5 separate regions of the Homo sapiens genome follow, and regions 1, 3, 4 and 5 are each linked to region 2. Evidence: promoter capture Hi-C in 16 types of primary human blood cells and fetal thymus (Javierre and others, 2016). All regions are on one chromosome and are shown on one strand. Each heading gives the region's core, a stretch centred on a gene start or on the middle of the fragment in contact. The rest is flanking DNA. Distances are from core to core; before and after follow the strand shown. Region 1 has its middle 79 kb from the start of MIR4771-2. Region 2 holds the start of BCL2L11 (BCL2 like 11). Region 3 has its middle 140 kb from the start of MIR4771-2. Region 4 has its middle 25 kb from the start of MIR4771-2. Region 5 has its middle 57 kb from the start of MIR4771-2.

Region 1 (2,700 bases), core at 185-2,684, 570 kb before region 2:
AGTATTGCACCAACCTTGCACCCCTGAAATAAACCCCACTTGGTCATGTGGTATAATTCTTTTTATATATTACTAAATTTTATTTATTAATATTTTGTTAAGAATTTTAGCATCTATACTTAATGAAAGGTATTGGTTTCTAAGTTTTTTTTGTACTGTCTTTGGTTTTATTATCAGGTGATACTAGATTCATAAAATAAATTGAGAAGTATTCCTTTCTTTTATTTTCTGGAAGAAATTGCATAAAATTGGTGTTTTAAACATATTTGTTAGAATTTCCTTCTGTGAAACCATCTAGGCCTGGAGTTTTTTTAAGACAGTTTAAAAATTATTAGTTATTTATTAGTTTCAGGGCTATTGATAGTCTCTATTTCATCTTGGTGAGTTGTGGTAGTTGGTACTTTTCAAGGAATTGGGTTATTTCACTGAAGTTGTCAAATTTATGCATGTAGTGTTGTTTGTAGTATTTCTTTATTATCTGTGCAGTGTTTACAATAGCTATGGCTTTATCTCCGATTTCATTTGTGATGTTGGTGATTTGTGTTTTCCCTTTCTTTTTTCTTGCTTGAGATTTGTCAATTTCATTGATCTTTTCAAAGAACCAGCTTTTTGTTTCACTGATTTTCTGTATTAATTTTTCTGTTTTCAGTTTTATTGATTTTTGCTTTGTTCTGATTTCTGGTGTTCTTCCTCCACCCTCCAGCAGGAGAAGCTTGAACTGGGCTTAGGAGAAGTGAGTGGGGTGAGGAAGCCATCTCCACTTTAGGGAGTTGCAGACGGGAGTGGATGAAGGTGGAGGCCAACAGCCTAAGTAGCTGAGAGGGGGTGCTAGAGTAGGTGTTGTTGATTTACTCTCTTTCTGACTCCAGGTTGCACTGCAGAATGAGCTGAAGGTGGTGAGGAGGCAGCCCCCACCAGCACTTCCTGACCTCTCTTTAAGGGGACTCTGGCTCTGGCAGGGCTTTGGGTGCTTGAAGGGTACTCTCTAGTTTAAAACCTCATAAGCCCTGTCAGCAAGAAATGGATGAGGAAGCTGAGACTCCCTAAGCCTCTATGTGGTGAGTGTGTCCCTCCTTACCTGAAGATCCTGAGAATTCTGAGCTCTTCACTTGTGCTTAAGGACAGTGACCTCAGGAGGATTCTTTCTGAAAACGTTTGCACTGGGCATCCTAGTCTCCTCCCTGGGTCCAAGAGGACTTTGTTGGGTGTGGAGGTGAGGTGGACTGGGTGGTGTCCAGTCTGCCCTCCTGCCCTGAAATGGCCTGAGTTGTGTCTGTGCTTTAGTTACCCCAGGTTGTCATGGGGCAGCCAGGCGCAAGCAGAGTGAGTGGGGCCTGGTGGCACAGCAGGGCCTCCATTTAACAGGAGAAACCAGGCTGCTCTCCACATATAAATATAGGAAGGGAAAGTTTCCCAGACCTTTTGGAGTTTAGACAGCTCTTATAAAATGGCATTTTGATGAGCTGAGCATAAATGAATTGGAAACATTCAGATAACATTTCCCCAGAGTGTATAAACCGAAGACAAAAGTGCTTGGCAAAGAGTTTGAGGGGCTGGGCCAAGAGTTTGAAAAATGATTTGAGATGTTGTGATGAACCCAAACTACCACCAGCTTCTCCTGGCTCAGCTGCTTTGGAGAGCCTGGGAGAGGGGGCCTCAGGCAGGAGAGGAGAGATGCTTTCTTTCCCTGGGAACAGAGAGAGCCACTTTGAAACCATGCTCACCTGCATGTAGCTTCCCACCTGGGCTGTATTTGCAGCTAGCGACCAACCATCCATCCATCCATTCATCTGTCCATCTGTCCATCCATCCATCCATCCATCCATCCATCCATCCATCCATCCATCTGTCCATCGATCCATCCATCCATCCGTCCATCCATCTAACTATTCACTGTTTGTCCATCCATCTACCATTTATCCATCCCTTCATCTGTCTGTCCATTCAACCATCCATTCATCCAACCAACACTTGTTAAACACCTACTGTGTAGATGGCTCTGGGAAGACAGAAGGTAACGAGACTTAGCCCCTTCTCTTGCAGAGCTCAGTGTCATGGTGGGAGAATGTTATAAACGAAGATTTGAGGACAGGCAAGCGCTGCAGAATCCCAGGGAGGAGTCACATACTTGTGAAACTGTGAGGGTGACAAGCTTGCCAAATCTTCCAGTGTTACCCCAGCAGGGTGTTAGGATGCCTCTAAGTTGGACCAGGGACCCTCAAGATGAGATGTTATTTGGAATAGAAGGTAAAGGAAGGGGTTCACCTTGCCCCTGAGCTCAGAGCTACACCAAACCTACTGTAAGACAGTGGAATTCAGACATCACAGCAGTGGGATGGTCATCATTGGTAAGGGAGAGACCTCTTTCTCTTAACATTGACCCCGGGACCACTGCTTTACCCCATGCAGCTCCTAACCGAATCCTATGGGGAAGATACTGCTGTTCTCTCAGGAAATGGAAGCTAAGTGTGAGGACTCAGTTTGGGGCCACCTGGCTGGCAAAGGGAGAACTGAGACTTGAATCTGGGCCCATTGACTCCTGTACTGGGCAGTGGGGCTTCTACCCAGTAGGTGAGAGAAGAACTAGGGGTATACTGGTTGCTGCCAAATCCAGGCTCTGTCACTGGGCTATGGGTGTAGTGTTTGACCTTAGCCAGGTAGGGAAGTTGCTGAGAATGGCAAAGCTGTAAGCTGCAAGGA
Region 2 (2,700 bases), core at 40-2,539:
CTAACGGCCGTCACCGCCCTGGCTGTGGCAACTATTCTCCTCCAACAACTTCCTCTCTCTCCTGGTGCGCCGCAGACACGAGTCAAAGCCGAAGAGCCACCCCTGGCCGCGGACGCGCACGTCCGCGACCATCGAGTAAATTCACACCCTCCGCCCTGGCGTCCGTCGGGCCCTCCACCAGCAGCGCCAACCCTGGGGCAACAGGTCCCAGAGGGCACGGCGCCGCCAGCCTGCACCGCGAACCGGGTCGGGTGTGCTCGGGCATGCGTGAGCCGCTAAGATAGCCCGGCCCAGGGACCGAGCAGGTTCTGCCGGCCGCGACTAGTCCCCTGCGCGGTCCAGGTGGTCAGGGGAGGACCTAGATTTCTCGCTGCCAGGGAATCGTGCGGATGGCACAGGCCGCAGGACTCCTGCAGAGCAAGCAGGGGCCCCAGGTACGCTTGAGAAAGCGAACGCAGCAGTGGCCCCGAAACCTTGGCCTGAATGAGTAAAAGGAAAAGCCGTGTCTCGTCAGTTAAATCACCACCGCAGTTCCGCAAATCCTCCGCAACAGGCCCACGCGCCCCAAAAAACCAAGACACGAAACACCCTCACACTGCGCGGCCGCTACTCTGAGGGCGCCGGAGCCGGCGGCGAGACTTTCCAGCTGGGCGCACAGCCCGATACTACGAGCAGGTCCTCAGCTCCCGGGCCGGCGCCGAAAGGCACGCGCTGCCTCTCCTCCTGCCCGGACCTACGACCCTTCACCAGGCCCGCGCGCAGCATCCCGTCCCAAGCCGCACTTCGGCCAAGAGCCTGCAGGTTCCGCGTGAACGACTTTTCTTTAAAGAGAACCTGCCCGAGAGGGAACCCGATCCACACGGATCCCCACCTCCCGCCGGCGACAAGCGGCGCCGATGCAAGCGTCTCCGCTCGCACGTGCACGGGAAGCGGGCAGTAGGTGGTGCCGTTCGGGCTCCAGCGCTAGTCTTCCTTCGGTGCCAGGCCCGCGCCCCGGGATTTGGAGGTATTTACCTTGCGTTTCTCAGTCCGAGAGTCAGAGTCAGACATTTGGGGGAACAAGGGCCAAGAAAGGGCGCCGAGGCGGTGGCGGCGGGAACGCAGCGAACCGAATACCGCGATGATGCGATCGCAGTGTGGCAGGGTTCGCAGGGTGGCTGCAAGAATCAAGTGGTGGTAGTGGCGGCGGCGGCGGCGGCGGCGGCGGCGGCGGCGGCGGCGGCAGCGGCAGCGGCGCTGGACGCAGAGCTCCAACAAACTGCAGACCAGGCGGCTGCGCGGAGCGAAGTGAAACCTGCGCGGCCCTGCAGCCCAGCTCTGGCTGGCGGCCCCGCTCCTACGCCCAATCACTGCGGACCCCGCCCCCGCTAGGTCCCGCCCCGGCGCGCGGGCTGGCAAGCTCCGCCCCCCTCGGCGCCGCGGCCGCCGGCGCGTGCAGGCTCGGACAGGTAAAGGCGGGGGTTGCCCCGCTGGGTTGCCTCCCGCGCGCGCCGCCGTCCCTGGCGTGTTTACCGGAGTAACTCTGCCTGCTGGCGGCCATGTGCGCGCCCATCCCCCACCCCGAAGTGTACCCTAGCCTCCCGCTCACCTACCCCAACCCGGCGGCGGCCGCGGCGTGCGCGGCACAGAGGGGGCGCTCCGGTCACAGCCTCCGCTGGCCCGGCCGGCGGTGTGAAGCCTCGGGAGGCGCCCTGCGCTCTCACTGTGCCCTGAGTTTCTAAGCCGCTCTGGGGCAGGCGCGGGGACTGGGTTGGTCCTCGCGAAGGCGCGGGGCGAGGTCTTTGAGCTCTCCTCCCTCTGAGGGTCCCTGGCGCCGGGCGGGACGCGGATCAGCAGGCTGCGCATCTTCCTCGCCCGGGCCTCTCGCGGGACTCAGGCACCCTCCTCCTGCCACCCCGCAGGGGCTCTCCAGCTTTTCTTCCGCGCCCAGTCGCCCTAAGAGACAGAGGCCGTGGGGGCAGGACGCGCCCAGAAAACGGCCAGGCGCGGTCCCAGTGGGCGTCTTCGCCGCCTCCCGGGTGAGGGCGGGAGGCATGTGCAAAGCAGGTAAAATAGGGAAATGAAAAAAGCACTCAGAAAAAAAAATCCTTTTAGGAAAAAAAAAAACGAGGTGAATGGCGGCCTCCAAGTGAGAGAGAACGTTGCGCACTGCATTTGGCTAGGACCCCCAAGATTTGCTGGGCTCGCAGATAACCTCGTAGGAGCTCCCTCGACTGGCTGAGGCCAGTGAAGGCAGAACAGCTGAGTTCGGGCCGCGGTGCGGGAGCGCAAAATACCCCGTCCCTCCTCCCCTCCCGCCTCCCCACCCATCCCTTTCCTCCCTGGAGTCCGCAGCACCTCACTCTACCTCCCAGGAGACCAAACTCCATGCCGCCTCTCCAGTCCTCTGAGTCTGCACCCGGGTCTGCTCTCCCAACGCGTGGCTGGCGCCCCAACCCCGGCCCTCCTGTCTGCTCCTCCCGCGCCTCAGTTCCCCAGCCCCAGCTTCTAGACAACTGCAGCGGGGGTGTGGGAGGTGGATCGGGAAATGGAACATCCCGCAGGTGAGGTCAGGCTAGATGGATTAAGGAAACTCTGTAAAGGGACCACCCTACACACCACCGCAGCCGGCAGGGAGAAGGAAGGGGCCTTGCCGTAGAGGAGCAAGTGAGGAGGCGTTGTCCCGCCGTCCGGCCGCCTGGAGCAGTTTTTAAATTCATA
Region 3 (2,700 bases), core at 95-2,594, 510 kb before region 2:
GGAGGGAGAAAGTGAATAATTGGAAGCAACAATCTAATTTACCATGACATAACTGGAAACAGTTTTCTTTTTCCTCACACTTGAATGATAGTTTGGTTGAGTATAGGATTTTAAGTTCTTTTAATTTATTTTCTTTTTCTTTTTCTAAAAAAATTAATCCTATCCTCTCTCATGCCTTGAAGATTTTACTTGTTCTTTTTTTAGTAGTTTTTACTTTAAACATTTTAAATTTCTATTTGTAAAAGAATGTATACCTATGATTGGTATCAGTTTAATTATGTCTATTTAAAGATTATCTTCTGTTTCTTCCTAATTCTTTTTCTGGATAATTTATTTTTCTATTTGTGTGTTTGAAGCTTTTTTTTTTCTGATGGATTATAGTCTTCTTTAAATACTTATGCTTTTGTTGATGTCCCTTTCACTTTTGTATTGAAGGTTGTCTGACTGCTATTTCCCCTTTATTACAGTCTAATGACAGGGGTGGTATTGGGCAGGCAAGGCTGTGCAGAGTAGGCTGTCTGTGTGTTATGGTTTGAATGTGTCCCCCAAAAGTGATGTGTTGGAAACATAATCCCCAATGCAACAGTGTTGAGAGATGGAAACTTTAAGAAGTGATTGTGGCATGAGGGGTCTACCCTCATGAATGGATTAATGTTGTTATCTGGGGAATGGGCTTATTATCTCAAGAGTGGGCCCTTATGAAGAGTGAGTTTGGCACCTTCTCTCACTCTCTCTCACACATGTGATGGCTTCCATCCTGTTATGACACAGCAAGAAGGCCCTCACCAGATGTGGCTTCTTGATCTTGGACTTCCCAGCCTCCAGATCACGAGTGAAACAAACTTCTAGTGTTTATAAGGCACCCAGTCTGTGGTATTTTGTTGTAGCAACACAAAACAGACAAAGACACTGTGGATGCGGGCTCAGTCACCATCTGACCTCATCCCTCATGGTGTCTTATAAGTTTTGGGTCCTTTAAGCACCCTTTCTGGTTATCTGACCCAGGTAAGGATTGTTTTCTTTTATAAAGCATACTTTATTCTTGTCTCCAGAGATTTGGGATGAGAGGGAAGGAAGGTATATGTGCTCTGGTTAGTGTCTTCTCTGATTCTTTTTTTTTTGAGAACCCAAGAACTCAGGGGAGAGAGAACAGGAAAGGGAGTCTCTTCCTCCAACACAGGCCTATCTCAGGCTCTGGGAAGCAGTACTGGGCACGGGTGCAGATAAGGTTTGCTCTTTCCTTCCTCCTCCTTTGGCCTCTCCCCGTGTGCAGCTCCCCTGTGCCCGGGCAGGCCGAAGGGGGAAGCTGGCTATGGCTCTGGCCCTTCTCCGTTGGTCTTTTCTGGCCCTAAGCACCCTCTGCCTCATTGCCATCCACATGACGGGCCTCTTGGGAGATACATGTGTATTCTTTGGAGGACCCAGCAGGCTCCCACTGCACGGTTCCCTGATGTGGGGGATCCCCTTGGCCTCAAACTTTTCTTTTTGATGTATCCTTTATTCAATTCAGATAAGGGCCTGGAATTCTCTGCCAGCTGCAAGATGTGTTCATTCACTTGCCCAACATTTGTCAAGTGCCGTTATGGGCTAGGTACTTTGCAGGGGCTTTTTATCCCATAGAAACCTCTGTGTAGGATGATAGTGCTTACAAAATAGATGATGTGGTGTTGTTTCTGTGTGCGGAGGTGGGGAGATGGATGGACTGGTTGGAAAATATTTTACAGAGGATATGAGTCCTAACTGAATCTTGAAAGGTGAGTGGGCAGCATAAAGGGAGAGGAGTGGGGAAAGTCAGGCTTGGAGGTAGACAGTGGGTCCACAGCCCAGTTCCAGGCAGTGAGGCAGTACATTCCCAAATGGTTCTGAACAGGGAGGGGAGATATGACTCCCCTTAGTTTTGGGTTTCAGAAAGACCCGGGTGGTATGAGTGAGGAGGAGGGATTGGATGGGGCAGTTTGGATTGAATGGAGACACTGCTAAGAGGCTGTTTGGAGTTCTGGGAGCTGAAAAAAATACCCATGAGGATGTTTATGTTTGGGAAACTGTGCATCTGCGTGTACACCTGCCACACACACACACACACGCACTCTCTCTCTTGCACAACCAGATCCAGAAGCTGCTGCTCCTGAATCAATTGCTCAAACTGGTGCCGGGCTGCACTTGCTGTGGAAGGATAGAGTCCAAAGAAACAACAGCTCCTGGGGGCCAGTTTTCTTAAAAAGCTGCTTTTCTCTGAGCCCTGGGGTGAAAGCTGAGCCTGAGAAAGGAAGTAGGGCCCCAGGATGATGTCATTGCCCACATCATTCAGTGCAAGGTGGGAAAGGGAAGCTTCAGCATAGCTCTACAATCACCTGACAGCTCAGGGTATCTGGAGGGGGATGCCGAATCTCCAAATAAGTCTTCTCACTGTGCATCAGTGGGAGACAGAAGTGTGGAGAGAAAGGGTGGTTTGTCTGGTCCTTACATGTGCTGCTAATGAAGGTTCAGCAACTTTGCCAAAGGCCGTTAGGAAATCAGGGTATGTGATTATTTTAGGAACCTGTCTTGACTCTAAATGGGTGAGATTAGAAATGTGTAACCATCATTATATTTGTCTCCTGAAGTCACACAGGTCTGTGTACCAGCTGGGCCTAATTCCAGAACCTGTGCTGTGGACTTTTAGGGCTGATTCTCAATGATGGAAGGTCCCTGGCGCTGAGA
Region 4 (2,700 bases), core at 78-2,577, 620 kb before region 2:
TCTCTTAGAGTCTCTTAGAGAAGTTGCTAAGCATTTTGATTGCTGTCAATAGAGATTGAGTGTGTGGTAAGGCTTCCTCCTTGGTGGGCCTTTTGGTGATAGGATGGTCAAGTGAGGAAGGGCTGTGCTCCTGCGGCTCCTAATTCTGAATTATATTTATTGGGCCATGCAGTCTGGTTAGTGCCTGAGTTTATGTATGGGAAATGAATTCCATTTCTACATGCTGGGTCCTTATCAGAGCAGAAAAAAGAACCCACGCTATGCAGATACATAAATGTCACCCACATGAACAAGGCACTGTCTTCAGTATGGCATGAAGGGGGCAGTGATGGATGGGCAGCTGGAGAGGGGAGCGTGTTCAGATGAGACAGGCTGGTGCAGACATCTGGGGTCAACCACAGCAGACACTAAAATGCAGTGGGGCCGTGGTGAGGGGGATGGAGGGGATGTGGGAGGTGAGTGGGAGCTGAGGGAAGAGGAGTGGCTCAGAATGCAGCGGGGGGTCTGCGAGAGGACCAGAGAGGGAGGAAGCCTCTCCTTGGGAAGAGTTGGGGGCAGGTCAGGAGAGGTTCCAGGTAGAGTCAGAGGTGGCTGGGCTGGGGTGGTGAAAGCCACCCTTATCCTCCCTGTGACTCTTAGGGTCATTGCACTGCTTTTCTGCTTCCAGATGAGATGGAGTAGCAGGGACGGCGTTTATCCTTTCACCTGACATAATTAACACAGGACAAAATAGATGAGGAAAAAAACAACAAAGCGAAACTCTTGCCATCAGACAGCGCAGAGCTGTGGTCCCTGAGAGGGAGAGACAGACAAGAGGAGTGCTAGGATTTCCCCAGAGGGCGTGGCCTGGACACTTTCCAAGCTGTGGCCCATGGATGTGGCTGCTGTCGTGGTGGGGTCCCTCCGGGGAAATCACTTTGTCAGTGAACAGCAACATCCTTTTCTGATTTTTCTAGTACCACGCATTGTTTTCTCCCATTGTCCAACAAAGGAGGCAAGAATGCAGTGTGCCGCATTCCTCCTGCAGCAGCGCTCCGGTGGCGTACCTTAACCTCGCTTTTGTTTTTTCATGTGTTGGCTGAGTCAGTGAGTGTGCTGTGGTGGACCTCTGCCATTTGTAGCTCCTCAAATCTTCAGCACCCTCTTCACAGTTTGATAGTTCCCCACAGTGTACCTCCTGCCTTCTAATGAGTCTCCAAATATTCCATTTCACAACCATCCTTGTTTTTGAGGTGCAAACATATGATTTAGGTCCAGGGATCATAGGCACCCACTCAAGGCTTTGATCCCAAACAGTTCCCATGGCTGGGGCAGATTGCGGTGGAGGGGCAGGGGCAGGGGCTGACAGCTGTGGCAGAGGCGTCCTGATTCAGCTGCCTCCAGATGGGGCCAGAGCGGCTGCCCCTCACTGCATTAGATCTATGGTATGGCACTGGGGGTCTCTTTCTTCAGCATTCGATTTGGTATGTTATCTTTTTTTTTTCTTTGATCAGCTTTTCATTATCTCTATTCACAAGTCGTTATAATATTGCTATTTATCAGTTTAATGTAACACATATGATAAAAACAGATGATAAAAAGTATCATATTAACAATGAGAACATTATTGGCTGGGTGCAGTGGTTCACGCCTGTAATCCCAGCACTTTGGGAGGCCGAGGAGGGTGGATCACCTGAGGTCGGGAGTTTGAGACCAGCCTGACCAACATGGAGAAACCCTGTCTCTACTAAAAATACAAAATTAGCCAGGTGTGGTGGCACATGCCTGTAATTCCAGCTGCTAGGGAGGGTGAAGCAGGAGAATCACTTGAACCTGGGAGGCGGAGGTTGCGGTGAGCTGAGATCGCGCCATTGCACTCCAGCCTGGGCAATAAGAGTGAAACTCCATCTCAAAAAAAAAAAAAAAAAAAAAAGAGAACATTATTTTACACAACCCATTTACTGAATATGCAGCCTCTTGCAACAATAACGTAGTGGACCCAACTCTACCCTCTGAATGGACCACTTTTATGATTCTCCTAAAAAGTTTTGAGTTGGATATAGTTTCTTGTTGCTTCTTTCTGTGATCCGAGACTTAAGAATGAGTCTCTGGAAACGCAGCAATTGGAACCAGACCTCCCCAGGATCAAAGAGGACAGGAGTGGGAGAAAGGATGCAGGACACGACTCCCACCGTCTCCAGCACTGCGCCGTATGCTTGACCTCAGAGCATGCAGGCACTCAAGGTCAAGTGTGCAGCCACGTCTATATCCTGCATCTCAAGTGCTCGCAACTGTGACAATTAGCAGATATGGGAGAGAGGAGGCATATCATGGAGGAATGAGTCAGTCCCAAAAATTACATGAACATTTCTGAAATTTCAATACCAAGGGTTAACTTCTAAAGTACTAGTGTATAAACAGAAGCCATATAGCTAGCCATGAACTGAAACGCATGTACCATACAGTGAAGGAGCTCCTGTGCATACAAAACCACCCACGTCTCATTTATCTCTAATTTTAAAATAACTCATTCCCTTGCTGGATATGCAAGTGAGTGGTGGAGAAAGCGGTCTATCTGCAAGGCTGGCGGGGGTTAAGGATTTCATTGCTTCCAAAAGACGTGAGCAAGAGAACTTTATTACTCACTGAAGGGGATTCTTCCTTCTCAGCCAAGATGGTCCCATTTAAATCACTTTTGAATTTCCTTTCAAGCTTCAATTG
Region 5 (2,700 bases), core at 152-2,651, 590 kb before region 2:
TCCTAGCTACTTGGGAGGCTGAGGCAGGAGAATCGCTTGAACTTGGGAGGTAGAGGTTGAGTGAGCCGAGATCCGAGATCGCACCACTGCACTCCAGCCTGGGTGACAGAGCAAAAGACCCTGTCTCAAAAAAACCAAAAAAACCCAAAAACACTTTGAGGTGTATTTTTTGCCATTAGGGATGTGAGTCCAGTGGATCAATAGATGTCTTTGTGACTCACAGTGATGCAGATGAACCACAGTGGTGCATTCATTCATTCATTCATTCACTCATTCATTCATTCAGCAATGACTTCTCTAACTGCACATTGCTGGCTGGGCCTTCACTTCTGCACATAGTGTGCAGGGGAGCAGATATCTCAGAGTCCTGATTGAAACAGGCCCGAGTCTCGTGCTCCTTCTGGGGAGAAGTTTGCCCTTTTCAGCCCGAGGTCAGGATGGGGTGAGTGGTCACTGCCAGAGGGCCGTGTTAGGAATCATTTAGGACTCATGTGACCTGGATGGCTGCCCACTCACCTGGGGTGTGAGGGTGTGAGCTTTTCCTTTTCCTGGAAAGTTCTTTTCAAGTGTGAGGGGTGGGATGAAGACTTTGTCCACATGTTTTCTCCCTGCCCTGACTCACTTGTGGTTTTCGTTCCCAGAATCTCCTCTGCCGTGTTTTGGTTTTGAGGAAGTCGTGTGTGTGCCTTGCTTCTCTCCACTGGCCTCACCCACTTCACCACACCAGAACCTTCCAAGGAAACATTCTGGATGTGCAGTTTTCTAGCAGTTGAGAGAAGAAATGGTGAGGGACATGCTATTTTGCACCATTTTGTTCTTGAATATTTTTAGTTCAAGAAAAACAATAATACCACACCCAAACTAGCGTTCCATTGCACTCACCTTTTAGAAACACGAGAGAACCTCTTGAGCTTAGCTGTTGTGGTCCTACCTCCAGCCTCTGCCCATGCAAGCCCTGCTCTCACCTGGCTCCCAGCCGGTCTTACCTGTCCTGTTGCGTCCTTCCCAAGCCACCAGGCCACAGGGCTTTCTTTCTTCCTGTGTGGCGCTGGTCCTTTTCATTAGCTTCTGGCACATCACCCCAACTTGCCGGTGAACCCCTGAGGAGAGGGACTAAACCCTGACCTTTACAAAAGGTTTCTGTAAAATCAAATCATAATCACTGTAAATTAAAATAATGCAAACAAAACAAAAGCGCAAGGAAGAAAGTCAGTGTCAGTTACAATCCAGCCCCCTAGAGACATCCGCTGCCCATGCCAGCTGCAGCGTCCCTCTGGCTAGCTCTCTCTACACCTGTATCAGGTGCTGCTTACGGAGGTTGTTACAAGAGTGGGATGGTAATAGGCGTTGCTGCTGTGGGACTGACCAGGACTACACTGCTTTGTCATTTCTTTCTTTCTCTCTTTTTTTTTTTTTTGAGACAGAGTCTCGCACTGTCACCCTGGCTGGAGTGCAGTGGCGCGGTCTCGGCTCACTGCAACCTCCGCCTCCTGGGTTCAAGCAATTCTCCTGCCTCAGCCTCCCGAGTAGCTGGGATTACAGGTGCATGCCACCACGCCCAGCTAATTTTTTGTATTTTTAGTAGAGACAGGGTTTCACCATGTTGGCCAGGCCGGTCTTGAACTCCTGACCTCGTGATTTGCCTGCCTTGGCCTTACAAAGTGCTGGGATTACAGGCGTGAGCCACCGTGCCCAGCCTGCTTTGTCATTTCTTGCTCTTGCTTTGTCATCTGTTTCCCTTCCCAACCCAGGGGACCCATTTTTAGCGTAGTATTATGTAAGAAATAGGTACTCTAGCAAGCCTTGATTGATGGCCTTGACTGATTATTCAACACACATTTCTTTTATTATTATTATTATACTTTAAGTTCTAGGGTACATGTGCACAACTTGCAGTTTGTTACATATGTATACATGTGCCATGTTGGTGCGCTGCACCCGTTAACTCGTCATTTACATTAGGTATATCTCCTAATGCTATCCCTCCCCACTCCCCCACCCCACGACAGGCCCCAGTGTGTGATGTTCCCCACCCTGTGTCCAAGTGTTCTCATTGTTCAATTCCCACCTATGAGTGAGAACATGCGGTCAACACACATTTCTTAAGAGATAGAATGACACATGGTCAAGAACACAGCCCAGTAGCCAAACTGCCAGGGTTTGAGGCCTGCGTATATCTGGCTGACCCTGGGCAAGTAACACAAATTCTCCATGCCTCAGTTTCCATATCTTTAAAATGGGGATTAGAATAGCACCTACCTCACATGTTTATACTAATACTTGATTGTGTTATAAACAGCGCCTGCCTTGTGGCAAGTGTTTGGTGAGAGTTCTATTGACCATCTATTAATGTGCAAAGTCCTGGGAATATGGGAAGTGAAGGCTACAGCAGCTCTCACGAGTCATGCCATGCATGCAGTGAATGACACCATAAGGGCCGCTGGAGGGCAGTCAGCTTGGGATCTCTATCCATGGCAGCATTGAGAAAGGGTGCTTAAGCCAGCATGGGAGGGGCAGGAGAGCATCCTCCTGCAAGGGTGCCCTGGCCTTCCTCACCTCCCCGCCCATGCAGAGAATAACATTTGCACCACTCATACTGGGAGGTGCTGGTGGGACGAGGCTGCTCATGGCTGAAGGGGACCTGCAGGGCTCTGCATGCTCTGGACATCCTGGTTTCCCCTGCACAGCCTCCATGGCAGG

Evidence for each region. Contacts are between HindIII fragments. The CHiCAGO score rates a contact against its expected background, and 5 or more counts as called.
Region 1: a contact is called between a fragment that was not itself captured here and the fragment with the promoter of BCL2L11 in region 2, in 16 of 17 cell types (neutrophils, erythroblasts, endothelial precursors and 13 more). The highest score is 23.9, in neutrophils.
Region 3: a contact is called between a fragment that was not itself captured here and the fragment with the promoter of BCL2L11 in region 2, in 9 of 17 cell types (neutrophils, M2 macrophages, erythroblasts and 6 more). The highest score is 11.6, in neutrophils.
Region 4: a fragment that was not itself captured here is called in contact with the fragment with the promoter of BCL2L11 in region 2 in 4 of 17 cell types (naive CD4 T cells, total CD4 T cells, naive CD8 T cells and 1 more); the score reaches 7.7 in naive CD4 T cells.
Region 5: a contact is called between a fragment that was not itself captured here and the fragment with the promoter of BCL2L11 in region 2, in 17 of 17 cell types (erythroblasts, neutrophils, total CD4 T cells and 14 more). The highest score is 27.4, in erythroblasts.

Annotation. Positions count from the first base shown.
Region 1 is chr2:111,690,508-111,693,207 of GRCh38, reverse strand. No RefSeq gene overlaps it. Among named protein-coding and RNA genes, the nearest start is that of MIR4771-2, 79 kb to the left of the region's middle. The HindIII fragment of the contact is 1,440 bases long and covers 715-2,154 here.
Region 2 is chr2:111,119,503-111,122,202 of GRCh38, reverse strand. It overlaps BCL2L11 (BCL2 like 11), which reads right to left and starts at 1,289. Exons shown (of 4, transcript NM_138621.5): 1 at 1,015-1,289. RefSeq lists silencers at 557-851, 1,185-1,724 and enhancers at 735-854, 2,005-2,084. The HindIII fragment of the contact is 10,886 bases long and covers 1-2,700 here.
Region 3 is chr2:111,632,378-111,635,077 of GRCh38, reverse strand. No RefSeq gene overlaps it. Among named protein-coding and RNA genes, the nearest start is that of MIR4771-2, 140 kb to the left of the region's middle. The HindIII fragment of the contact is 1,972 bases long and covers 359-2,330 here.
Region 4 is chr2:111,744,446-111,747,145 of GRCh38, reverse strand. It overlaps the pseudogene CENPNP2. Among named protein-coding and RNA genes, the nearest start is that of MIR4771-2, 25 kb to the left of the region's middle. The HindIII fragment of the contact is 2,733 bases long and covers 1-2,693 here.
Region 5 is chr2:111,713,051-111,715,750 of GRCh38, reverse strand. No RefSeq gene overlaps it. Among named protein-coding and RNA genes, the nearest start is that of MIR4771-2, 57 kb to the left of the region's middle. RefSeq lists a silencer at 1,549-1,769. The HindIII fragment of the contact is 7,580 bases long and covers 1-2,700 here.